3 separate regions of the Homo sapiens genome follow, and regions 2 and 3 are each linked to region 1. Evidence: promoter capture Hi-C in 16 types of primary human blood cells and fetal thymus (Javierre and others, 2016). All regions are on one chromosome and are shown on one strand. The core of a region is centred on a gene start or on the middle of the fragment in contact, and the rest is flanking DNA. Distances in the headings are between cores, read along the strand shown.

The links. The method cuts DNA at HindIII sites, captures the fragments that hold promoters and counts their contacts. A CHiCAGO score of 5 or more calls a contact.
Region 2: a contact is called between a fragment that was not itself captured here and the fragment with the promoter of NMNAT3 in region 1, in 1 of 17 cell types (naive CD4 T cells). The highest score is 6.6, in naive CD4 T cells.
Region 3: a fragment that was not itself captured here is called in contact with the fragment with the promoter of NMNAT3 in region 1 in 4 of 17 cell types (monocytes, naive CD4 T cells, erythroblasts and 1 more); the score reaches 6.2 in monocytes.

The regions. Positions count from the first base shown.
Region 1 is chr3:139,675,896-139,679,749 of GRCh38, forward strand. It overlaps NMNAT3 (nicotinamide nucleotide adenylyltransferase 3), which reads right to left and starts at 2,077. Exons shown (of 7, transcript NM_001401600.1): 1 at 1,810-2,077. RefSeq lists a silencer at 2,131-2,180. The HindIII fragment of the contact is 2,876 bases long and covers 650-3,525 here.
Region 2 is chr3:139,339,740-139,343,593 of GRCh38, forward strand. It overlaps LOC124909439, which reads right to left and starts at 1,134. Exons shown (of 2, transcript XM_047449421.1): 1 at 831-1,134. The coding sequence starts at 959. The HindIII fragment of the contact is 1,281 bases long and covers 973-2,253 here.
Region 3 is chr3:139,391,005-139,394,858 of GRCh38, forward strand. All of the region lies in intron 1 of COPB2-DT (COPB2 divergent transcript), which reads left to right. Among named protein-coding and RNA genes, the nearest start is that of COPB2-DT, 3.1 kb to the left of the region's middle. The HindIII fragment of the contact is 933 bases long and covers 962-1,894 here.

The sequences.
Region 1 (3,854 bases), core at 827-3,326:
CAACGATATGCTAAGCACCTGTTAAGCCTGAGCAATCCTCACGACTCACAAGGTGAGTGAGCTGCCCAGGGTCAGTCACAGAGCTGAGAAGTGCCAGGTCTGTGACCACCAAGCCTGGAGCTTCCCTTCTCATGGGCTGGCATCCTGCAGTGGTCTGAGAGGGGAAAAGAGAGGCTGCACAATGGCTGCTCTCTCTCCTCTTCCCTCCAACACCCTCTGTTAACATCATACCTGTTCTTTTTTACCACTCCCCACAAATGGTGCCAGACTCCTGCCTCATCTGGGTTCCCCTACTCTCTGGGCCTCTCAGTTGGTTTTCATGGAGCACTTTCTTTGTCTACAACAATGTTGTGAACAGAGCCAAATAAGAAATTGGGATCATTTGAGCCAATAAAATACAGTGAGCAGCTGACAGATGTTTCCTGAAACCTAAAATGCTCTCCCAAATCCATGGGGTCTCAAGGTCTGACACGTCCTTAGCAAGGTCCCAGCATAGTTGCTGCTTCTGGGAAGTCTTCTGTCCAGTTTTAAGAGGTGACACCAAAAGCTGAGAACCACCAATGAAATTCAAGAAGTAACTGATGCTCAGTGGAGCTGTGTGAACCATACCTTCAGGGGCTCCTGGGTGGCTTTCTGAGAAAAACAGAGAAGCTTTCCCCTGCAAGGCCAGTGGGTAAGAACCCTTTCTCTGGGTTGTGCCAGGGTGGAACTGTCACTTTATTTCACCTGGCCCACCGGACATGGGCTCCAGGAGGGCAGGGCCCCTGTCTGATTTCTCTCTGAATCCTCAGAGCCAGGGTAAAGTGGGCGCCAGTTAAATGTTTCAAGAATGAACAACTAAACCAGTCATCATTTTAGAGAACAGGCTGTTTGAGAGATTCTACTCAGAACCACTTATTTGATAGAGGAAGAAACAGGACTCAAGGAGAGGGGAAGTGACTTTGCTGAGAGGCAGGCACACTGTGTTTAGTCCAGAACAACATCAAGCCTTGGATGTTTAGTGCAGAGTAACATCCAGCACCCATCACGCAGTGCTAAGTCATTTACATTCACCATTTCCATTCTCAATGGGTAGAACAATCCCATTTTACAGAGGAGAACGTTAAGGTTAAGGAACTTGCTTTCCCCCCAGCTCTCTGCAGGCCAGCCCCACCAACCCTCCTTTCCTCAAGCCACATTCTCTCCCAACAAAATGAGTTTGCTCTGTTGTTCCCCGCCCGGGAATTCTCTAAAGTTTTAGTTCCAGCAGCCTTTGTAGCTGGGGGCCCTGATAAAATCTCTCCAGCACCCTAGAATTTCAATCTTCATAGCTCTGACCACAGTTTTAACGTTCACACTTGTTTGCATAGATATCCATTTGCTGTCGGTCTCCCCCCACTGGACTGTGAGCTGCACGGGGGAGGGCACCACATTTTTTGGCCTGCTACTGTAACCCCAGCACTTAGCCCAGCAGCGGACACTGAGTGGAACACGTTAAGTATTTGTTAGACACTGTGCTTATATTTTTAACCTTTGAGTGCACGAGTGCTAAAGGTGGGATCCGAACCCACGTCTCCGGGACTCTGGTCATAGCCAAAGGGGAGCTGGGGGTTAGGTTGACACGCTGCAGCGAGAACCGCCGGCGCGCAGAGGCAGCGCGGAGCTGTCCCCCCGGTTCGCGCCACCCCGGATGGCTCCGCACTCCGCCGCCACCTGTCGCCCCAGCGGGGACTCCCAGGACTCAGTTAGGGGCCAGGAGTCACGTGGGCCCGGGCATTCAGCCGCGATCCAGGTCCTAGTGGGCTGACGAGGGGCCCACGCTGCGCTTACCTGCTATTTGCAGGGCTCAGCAACGGCGCTCGGCGAGTCTCGGGGGACTGCGGGGGACTAGGGGACCTGCTGGGCCTAGCAGGGGCTGTCGGTCAGCGCGCGGCCCGGCGCCCGAGGTCCGAGAGGGAAACGACGTTTGGTCTCGGGACTCAAGGCTGCCTCCGGCCCGGGCAGCCTCAGGTCTAGATCCCCTAGTACCTGAGCTGGAGGCGGGGCCAAGGCGAACTTGACCTTGCGCTCCCTTAGCGGCCCCGGGCAGATGGAGTCTGAGGGAAACAGATCTGCGCCCCGCCCCTTCGCTGGGGCGGGCCCTAAGGAGACCCGGCCCTGGCCCCGCCCAGGGTCCTAAGCCCCGCCCTCTCCCCTGCCCCCGCCCCCGCCCGCTGGCTCCCAACCGCCAAGGCTCTTTTGTGTTGCGTGCGTGTTTGCTTTTTTATTCTCCTGTTTTGTATTCTGTTTGTTTTGTATTTTTATTTAATTTTCTTTTAAAAAAATACATGAAAGTAACGCCCACTTACTTATTAGAAAATAAAATTATCTAGATTTGCTTATAATGAAAGCAACAGGCCACTTCTCCCTCCCATCACAGCTCTTTTTAACAATTCCTCCGTTAATTTCTTCTAGTGGTCACCCGCTTGTCGCAAAAAAAAAATAAATAAATAAAATAAAAAAATAAAAAAAGAAACTTACATAGCGATTTCTTGATTTATCCATTGACTTTCTGCCATGTTATATGAGGATCTACTCTCTTACTGCGCGGCCCCTGTTTCCTTCTGACAAATTTACACCTCTATTCTCAAGCCCTGCCCTGGTAAACGCCAGACCTCAAAGCAGGGAAGGATTTCTGGGGCCTGAAGCATACACAGTTGTGTGGGGAGAAGGAAGGGAGGGCTGCTTAAGAAAGAGAAGACAGAATTAGGGCTTGCCAGTGAACATTTATTTGGAATGAGAAAATAAATCTTAACAGAATCCTGGGGTCTTAGAGATTGGGGTCCCTATCCCCTAAAACCTTCTTAGGAAATTTAGGTCCCAAATTTGCTTCCCTAACGCAGTCTGGCTTCCTCTGCCCACCCAGAACTCTCCATAAGCCCCCAGGGCTCATGGGAGCCTTGCAGAGAGAGGCCTTGAAGGACAAGATTCACTAGATTCTGCCAATACAGTTTCCTAATGGAGTGAATTGGAGTGTGCGAAAAAGAGAGACATCAAGGATGATGTCAAGGTTTTTTGATTGCTGTACACTTAATTTCCAGCGTTTCCTAGACACAGGAACACAACCTCATCTTAGTATGGAGAGTGTTTTATAAGCCTGTCCACATCACCAGAGCCTCACGGTGCACCCATGAAGTTGGCTGGACGGGTGCACTGTCCACAGTTTTAGGAGGCCCATAAATTTGTCCCTTGTGTATTAGCACCGGGGGCATGCAACTTGCACCCAATAAGTACCCAGGTAAATGGTACTTCCCCACTCAGTCTGAAGACACAGTGTCCGTGCCCTCTCGGATCCCTTTTCTCTTACCTGTGGTGTAAAATGTGGCTCCAGAAGGTGATCTTGGACAAGTCTCTTTACTTCCCAAGCCTCACTTTCCTTTCGTATAATGGGAGGTAACAACCCCTACCGCACTGAGTTTTGGGGAGGATTAAGTGGCTTAACATCTTTGGATATTCTTTAATTGATAAGTCAGCTTATTTCCCAGCAGGGTGGGAGGCTCATGAGAAAGCTTAGGGATTTCTGAGAATCTTGTGTAGCATGTAGTACCACAGGTTGATTAGAGGCCTTCGATTAAAATCGTGGGCTGAAGAGTCATTCTGGGTCAGGGCCCTAGGCCAGGGAGGGAGAAGCTGCACACAGAGAGCAGAGAAGAGGCTGGGCAATGACTTCCTCATGCAAGGGAAGCTTTCTCTGCCTGAGGTAGTGAAGACTAAAGCTTGGTCTAGGAGGAAGCCTGGTTTCCTAGGCAAGAAAAAAGGAATGAATTAATGGCATTCACAGCAACTGGATGAGATTGGAGAGTGTTATTCTAAGTGAAGTAACTCGGGAATGGAAA
Region 2 (3,854 bases), core at 363-2,862, 340 kb before region 1:
AATAAATTGGGTGGTCATGCGCAAGACCCATAACTTCAGAGCCTCAGTTTATGCATATAAAAGATGGGAATATCAGTGCCTGCCCTGTCTGCCTCACTAATTTGCCATGAAGACTAACAGGGCTGATGAGAAGACAGTGCACTCTGAGTGAGAGGGAAGGGGCTTGGGCCATCACATCTTCAACCATTCCTACCATTGTTCAAGGTTTTTTTGCTCAGGCAAACCCTCACACAGGCTTCCAGGAATGTCTTCTGATGTTTCCCCTCTTTCTCTGGAATTATCTCCTCTTCTGCACTGCTACTGACTGTCCCACTGCTCAGCAGGTTGCATCCCAGCCATGTGCCCAGCCCCAGCAGATACTTCAAACTGCTCATTCCTATAGCTCCCAACACAACCGTACCTCTTCTCGACCAATGATTTTGCTTTCCAGTGCTCAGAAAAAGGGACAGAGAGGCAGGAAGGCTCTCTGATTCTCTCCCCAAAACGTATCCACTCTAACCATCCTTAACTCCTGGCCTACTGGTGCAAAGGCTCCTTTGCATCTACTACCAATGCCTCCACTTAGAATCTTCATCCCCTGAAGCTTCCTCAGGGATCCACAACATCACTTGTCCCTTCTCGTTACTGGATCTTTGGTTTTTTCCTTGCTACCAGTCCCTTCTCAGCACACAAAGGGGAATTTCGGCCATGGAATTTGTGTCTCTGTAGGAACATGTAAGAGGTTTGGACTTTGAATAGGGGCCAGAAGAATAAAAACTCTGGGTGAAGTCAAAAGTGGGGTGGATGTGGACCTTTTGGGAGGCCTCAAGGATAGGGAATTGAAGACTTACAGAAGTCACATGAGTGTGGTTGCTGGAGACCGCAGGGGTTCTTGCGTTGTCCAGACTGTCACCTTTCTTCCTTGGGCTCTGTTCTTCCTCTCTCCATTCCTCTCCCTGACTTTTATCCCCTAACCCCATCTTGACTTCTAAAAGCTTAGGATAAAATATATCTTTTAAAAAACAGAAGTCCAGACCCTGTTAAATCACTGAGAGTGGGATAAGGCACTCCCCACTGAGGCATCACTATACTTTTGTTTTACAAATAATAGAAAACCATGCTTGCTCCACAGAGCTGGTGAAGATATGACCTAATGAATCCTAACAGTAGCTGCAGCCAGATAGCCTTGGGACTGTCAGTCAGAGGGCCAACCCTCCCCAACCCCCAGTGGTGAACAGAACCCCACCCAGGCCAATCAGCCTCTCTCACCAGGAACTTAGATTGGATGGAAGGCAGGGAGTTGGAACCAAGCCATTAGGACTGCAACCTCCTGGAGAGATCTCTTGAGTTCCTGCCTCTGGGGTTCTTGGAGCTGCCATCTTTCAAGTCCTTCCTGAGGCTTGGCTGTTGAGCTTTTTCTTGAATTCTGTGAGATATTCAGTATCCTTCCAATTACTCCCATTTCAGTTTTACTCAGGAAAGATTTGTTTCTTGCAACCAGAGTACTTCTGAATACCATCCTCAGAAAGTAACTGACTTGGGTGCCATGGCTCATGCCTGCAATTCCAGCACTTTGGTAGGCTGAGGCGGGCAGATCACTTGAGCCCAGGAGTTCAAGACCAGCCTGGACAACACAAAAATTAGCTGGGCATGGTGGTGTGCACCTGTAGTCCTAGCTACTTGGGAGGCTAAGGTGGGAGGATTGCTTGAGCCCAGGAGGCAGAGGTTGCAGTGAGCTGAGATCATGCTACTGCACTCCAGCCATGGTGACAAAGTAAGAAAGACCCTGTCTCAAAAGAAAAAAAAAAACGGAAAAGAAAAAAAGAAAGTAATTGACTTGCCACCACACAACCTTCTCACACCATCTTTATGAAACACCAGACATCAGATCCTGAAAGTACTTTATTCTCAAAGTTTGCAAGATAAGTATTGTCATTATGCCCATTTTGCAGGTGAGGTACTGGGGCTCTGAAAGATGTGGGCATCTGCCTGAGGTTATAGCTTAAACCAGGAATCTTCATTACTCCATATCAGTAAAACTCACTGTACCCCAAGTAAAAGAGGTCATTGAAAGGAAAGTGGGAAGCTCTCTGGCCAAGACACCACCTTTCTCCATCTCTCTCCGTACATATTCTCCCATCTCTGCTTCTGAGGATCTGCTCCATTTTCCTGCCTCTCTCTGCAGAGTGGCTTTTCCCTGCTCACTCATCAGTGAGCACATTGCTGAAAAAGGCTGCTTCAGCCCAAACCCTAAATACTTAGTTATTCACTTCAAGCTTCCACCGTCGACTATTCTATGTCTCATAGTTTGAATTATTGAGAAAAAATCTGCTTGGTGCCTGGTCATCTGGGGTAGGCTGAAGAATGCCCCCATACTTCCTCCCAAGTATAACTGCACTCTAATCCATGGAACTTGTGGATGTTACCTTATATGGAAACATGGTCTTTGCAGATGTGATTAAGTTAAAGATTTTAAAATGGGGATTATCTTGGATTATCAGGGTGGGTCAGTGATTATGCAATCACATACATCCTTATAAGAAGAAAACAGAGGAAGATTTGGCACAAATAGAAGAAGAGAAGCTGATGTGAAGATGGAGGCAGAGATTGAAATGATGCAGCCACAGGCAAAGGAATGTTTACAGTCATCAGAAACTGGAAGAGACAAGGGGCAGATTCTTCTCCAGAGATAGACTCTAAGGGGAGCAGAGCTCCCTTGATTTCAGCTCAGTAATACTGATTTCAGATTTCTCATGCGGAATTGTGAAAGAATACATTTTTGTTATTTTAAACCATAATATTTGTGGTAGTTTGTTATAGCAGCCACAGGAAACTAATGCTAATACAGCAGCCAATGGATTCATTCATCCTGCACTAAGTGTCCAATCAGCTGTGTCCAGGAGGATGTTTACAGGAAAAACATAGCCACTGAGGCCTGCTCCCTCAGCTATGGGAAGAAAGTAGAGGGTTCATTTTCAGAGAAAAGGCATGGGCTGGGAGACACCTGCATTCATCCTGCCACTAGTCTCTGACACCTGCTATCATGTAGGTGTAAGCATTGGGAAGTGCAGGGCAGCAGACTTGCCTAAATAGGCACCAAGCCTAGTGCTCTCCCTTCCCCTCCCAAATAGGGAATGAGTTCATAAACAGCACTGTTAATATTAATGCTAAGTTGGGGGAAAATAGCTGAGGCTGGAAGGTGAGTCTATTCATCCAGCTAAGTCAAACAAGAGTTTACTAACACCCTGTTTTCCCAGGCCTTGGGATAAGTGCTTAGCACAGGCACCAATCTATAGTCTAGAGAAGGATAAGACCTGCACATCCTGGATAGCTGGAAAAAATGTAAAGAATCATTTAATCATTCATTCATTTATTCAACAAAAGTTTGCTGTGCACGTAGATGTACTAGGCTAGGTGATATTGCAATAAAATATGTAGAGTCACTGTGTTCATGGGGTGAGAAAAAGAAATAAGCAGATAAAGAGCAAAATAACAGATTATAAAATGGGCTATAAAGGAAAGGAATAAGTGTTGAGACAGAGAATCAGGTGTATGAATTGGCAGTGGCAGTGGTGGTGGTGGTAATCAGGGCTTGGAGTCAGGAGTTAGATTTAGGGTGCATGTGAGCAGTGTGGATGGAGAAATTTAAGAAGTAGTTGGATTTAAACCTGAGGATGGGGGAGAAGGTTTGGGCAGGAAGTGGAATACATAAATTATGTATTTATTTGAGACAAGAGTCTCACTCTGTCACCCAGGCTAGAGTGTTTGTTTGTTTGTTTATTTGAGATGGAGTCTTGCTTTGTTGCTCAGGCTGGAGTGCAATGGCACGATCTTGGCTCAATGCAACCTTTGCCTCCTCGGTTCAAGCGATTCTC
Region 3 (3,854 bases), core at 178-2,677, 290 kb before region 1:
ACCTCCAGATTTTCAGAAAGGCAAAAAGAAAAATTATGTATTTGTGTGTGTAGATAATGATAATCAGAGGGAGATGATTTTGCACGAAATTATTTGGCTTTAGTAGGAGCCTTGAGCTAATGTGACTCTCTTCATGGGCCTCAGTTTTCATCATCTTAAAAAAAATCCAGCTACATGGTTTCTAAAGATCCTTCCATTTTTTTTTTTTTTATGTTTCTGTGGCATTCAATAGTGGAAAAAAGAGTCTGGAACTGGAGTTTAGTGCCAGCAGTGTGATCTTATGTAAATTGAGACTAATAATTCTAGTAATTGCATACTTTGCTTACTCTATGGAGTGACTGAGGATCCTGAGTTGAAAAAATTATATGAACTATACCTAATTTGCTTGAATAGTGGAACTTTCAATATTTCTAACTCCTGAATACTCTTGCACTTGAGAGAGTATTTTTGGATTTGGCACAGTACTAAGTGATACAAAATAAAATGATGTATCTCTATTGTCAAGGGGCTCAGCTGGGAATGCTTAAATCTTTGTATACCACTGGGCCACCTAAGGGTCTACCTAGCTGGTGTTGCGGGCCTGAACCCTCAAGTGTCATTCTTACTTGGACTATATCTTTTCTCATGTTTTCCACTGCAATTAGCCAAAATTAAGTCCTGCAATTGTAGACTGTAAATTCACTCTTTTAACCATTACATACTGAATGTGTACTATATACAAAGCACTATACTAGGTGCTGCCTTAAGATATTACCCATAGAATTTGGTGTTGGATTTTGGTTGAAATAAATTTTAAAGAAATAAAATTCTTAAATAGGAACTAATACATAACATTAAATATACACGTGTATTTCACTAGGCGTTCGACTGTGGGTTTAAATTAAAATCTTTTGTTTACTTGGTTTAGAGGAGACTGGAAGGTTAGGAAAAATAACCGTTGGGAAGAAAAGAAATATAGACAAGCTTAGCAGATTGGTAAAGGGTTTCCCAAGAGGTTGACTGCAATCGATTAACAGATCTTAAAGTCTTACCTAGTCAATTTCTATAATAGCTATTTCAGCCCTGCCTTTTTGCAGCAGCTGGGAGAATTCCAAGTGGGAATTCAGGTTGCAGTGCCTCTGTAAGTACCCTATATACACTGTTCCCTTCCCACCCTATTCCTACCTCTTCATAAGAAGTTGAGGAAAATAATTCGTTGAGAAAGAGTCAGGGTTTTTTGTTTATTATTTTATTTTATTTGTATTTATTTATTTATCTTGAGATGGTGTCTCACATTGTCACCCAGGCTGGAGTGCAGTGGCGCCATCTCAGCTCACTGCAACCTCCACCTCCCGGGTTCAAGCGATTCCCCTGCCTCAGTCTCCCCAGTAGCTGGGACTACGGGTGCACGCCACCACGCCTGGCTGATTTTTGTAGTTTTAGAAGAGATGGGATTTCACCATGTTGGCCAGGCTGATCTTGAACTCCTGACCCCAGGTGATCTGCCTGCGTTGCCTCCCAAAGTGCTGGGATTACAGGCTTGAGCCACCACACCCAGCCTTGTTTATTATTTTTAAATATACATGTGTTATCACTTAGCTAAGTGGTAAGTACTAGCACGAATAGGAACCTAGTTTCTCCCTTCAAAGGGGTTACAATTTATAAGCAGGAAAGGTTATTTATGCACAAATAATTGAATACCAGGCAGAATATGAGTACCTTCTGAGAGAAGTACCAGTAAAATACTCTGAAGATAAAATATCCAGCTAGGGAGATAAGTTTCATAAAGGAGGTAGAATCTGAGGTGGACTTTGAGGTGAAGAGTATACGGCATGTTTGAGAACCAAAAAAGGTCCAATTTGTTTGGAGAATGGTATTCATTTAGAAGAGCAGTGAGGGAGAAGGTTGAAGAGGAAGCTTGGGGCTAGAACCTGAAGATTTTTAAATCGGGAGAAATTGAGCTTTGAGTCAAGCAGTTGGGACTTACTGGGCCAGATAGGAAACCTGTTTATATCTGTACTCTAGATGATTTGTCTTTTGTTGATGTGTATGACACACTAAAAGAAGTTGAAACAGACTATATAAGTTTGGTGGAAGTGAGTGTGGAAATAACAGTAATAAGGAAAAATTTTTATTAAATGCCCACTATGTACCTACCTGCCATTGGAATATGTACTTTGCATACTGCAATTCATAAAGTAATACTAAAAGATAGGCATTATTTTCTCCAATTTATAGATGAAAAACAGAGGCTTAAATTGATTAAGTAGTATACCTCATGCCACATTGCTCATGACTGACAGACCTGAGATATGAACCTAAGTTATATTTAATGATACTAACATCTTTTTTTACTGGATTGTAATTTCTCCTTTTTTCCCTGAGAAGCTAGAATCAACTGGATACACAAATGCGTTTGTTGAATTGAGGGAGTGGGAGGCATCCTATTGCTGATGTTTTTAATCTAATGAACCCAGAAGAATATCTTTAATCAGAGGAAGATGTGGAGCCAGTGAATGATAGTGGAGCCAATGAAGGAACAATCAGAGAAAGAGAATCAGGAAAGAAGAAAAAGTGAAAGAAAAAGAAGTGGAGTCAGTGTAGGAACAATCAGAATAAGAGACCCAGAATAACTTTATGTCACAGAAGGAAAAGAAAGGGAAAATGTGACTGGGTGACTAGCATCTTGATAGCTTTAGAGAATTTAAGGAGGCTTAGTATTTGCCAAAACTATTGCCAATGAAATAAATGATTATGAGGACACTATCAGCCTTCAAAAAAGTTGAGTAATGGTAGGGAAGGCAAGTTTACAAAGGGTTTAGAAATTATTGGATGATAAAAAAAGTAGAGGTCATCAGTATAAACTATTTTACCAAGCGATTAGTGAAGAAAGGCAAATGTTGATGTGAGAGGTGTCTCACTGTAAGTGGGTTGACTGTTCCTGCATTTAGGGCATGCTTGATTTAATTATGATAGGCTCCAAATGGATGCAGGCCACTAAATGGACCTTTGTAGTGTGAGTAGGAACTAGCCAGGTAAATGTCAAGAGAGTATATCTAGAGCATTTGACTTTTCCAGAGAGCTAAGAATAGTTCAGCATGCCTGGGCCAGAGAGTAAGAAGGGGGAGGATTGAGAAATGGTATTAGAAAGATAAATGAGATTCAGATTCTGAAGATCCATGATAGCCAGTTAAAGGAGTCTGGACTTTATCCTGTAGGCTCTGGGGAACCATTTAAGAATGTTAAGTAGGGTAATCTTCATGCTCCATTACTGATACATCATCACATGTCAGTTACTTTTCCTGTTAGAGGAAATGTTAAGATTATCAGCCTGATTTCTGTATGAGGTGAATGAAAGCAAAAGTTTTGACCACATAGTCAAGTAGCAGCCAGCAGCAGACTAAATTGAGTTGGAGATCCACTGAACTGTCTTCCAAGAAAAATGGAGTTTGTGGTTGCCCAACACTTAGAGGCAAATGTTGGACTGATTGCAAAAGCATTGACCAACCACAATGTGCTGTACACTTCATGTGACTACCTTCTAAACATTTTAAATTTGTTAAATTTACTCCATGGGAGTTTGATGTAGAATTCCAGATGCAGAGGATGCTAACTTTTGTTTACCTGAAAGTGTAAAAATCCAGATTATTAGTAATGTGTTTGACTTGTGTTAATTTTACCTTAAAAATTACATTAACCTTATGTTTTTCTAATGAGTATTTTTAGAGGAGTCAAAGTTTAAAGTGAGCTTTGAATGAAACAAAGGAGGTGATTTCATAGATGGGAATTGCTAGACATTGTAAATATGGCAGTAGACTGGGGAGTTTGTTAGTGATCTCCACAGTTCTCCATCTGCGGATTCGTTCTCTACCCCA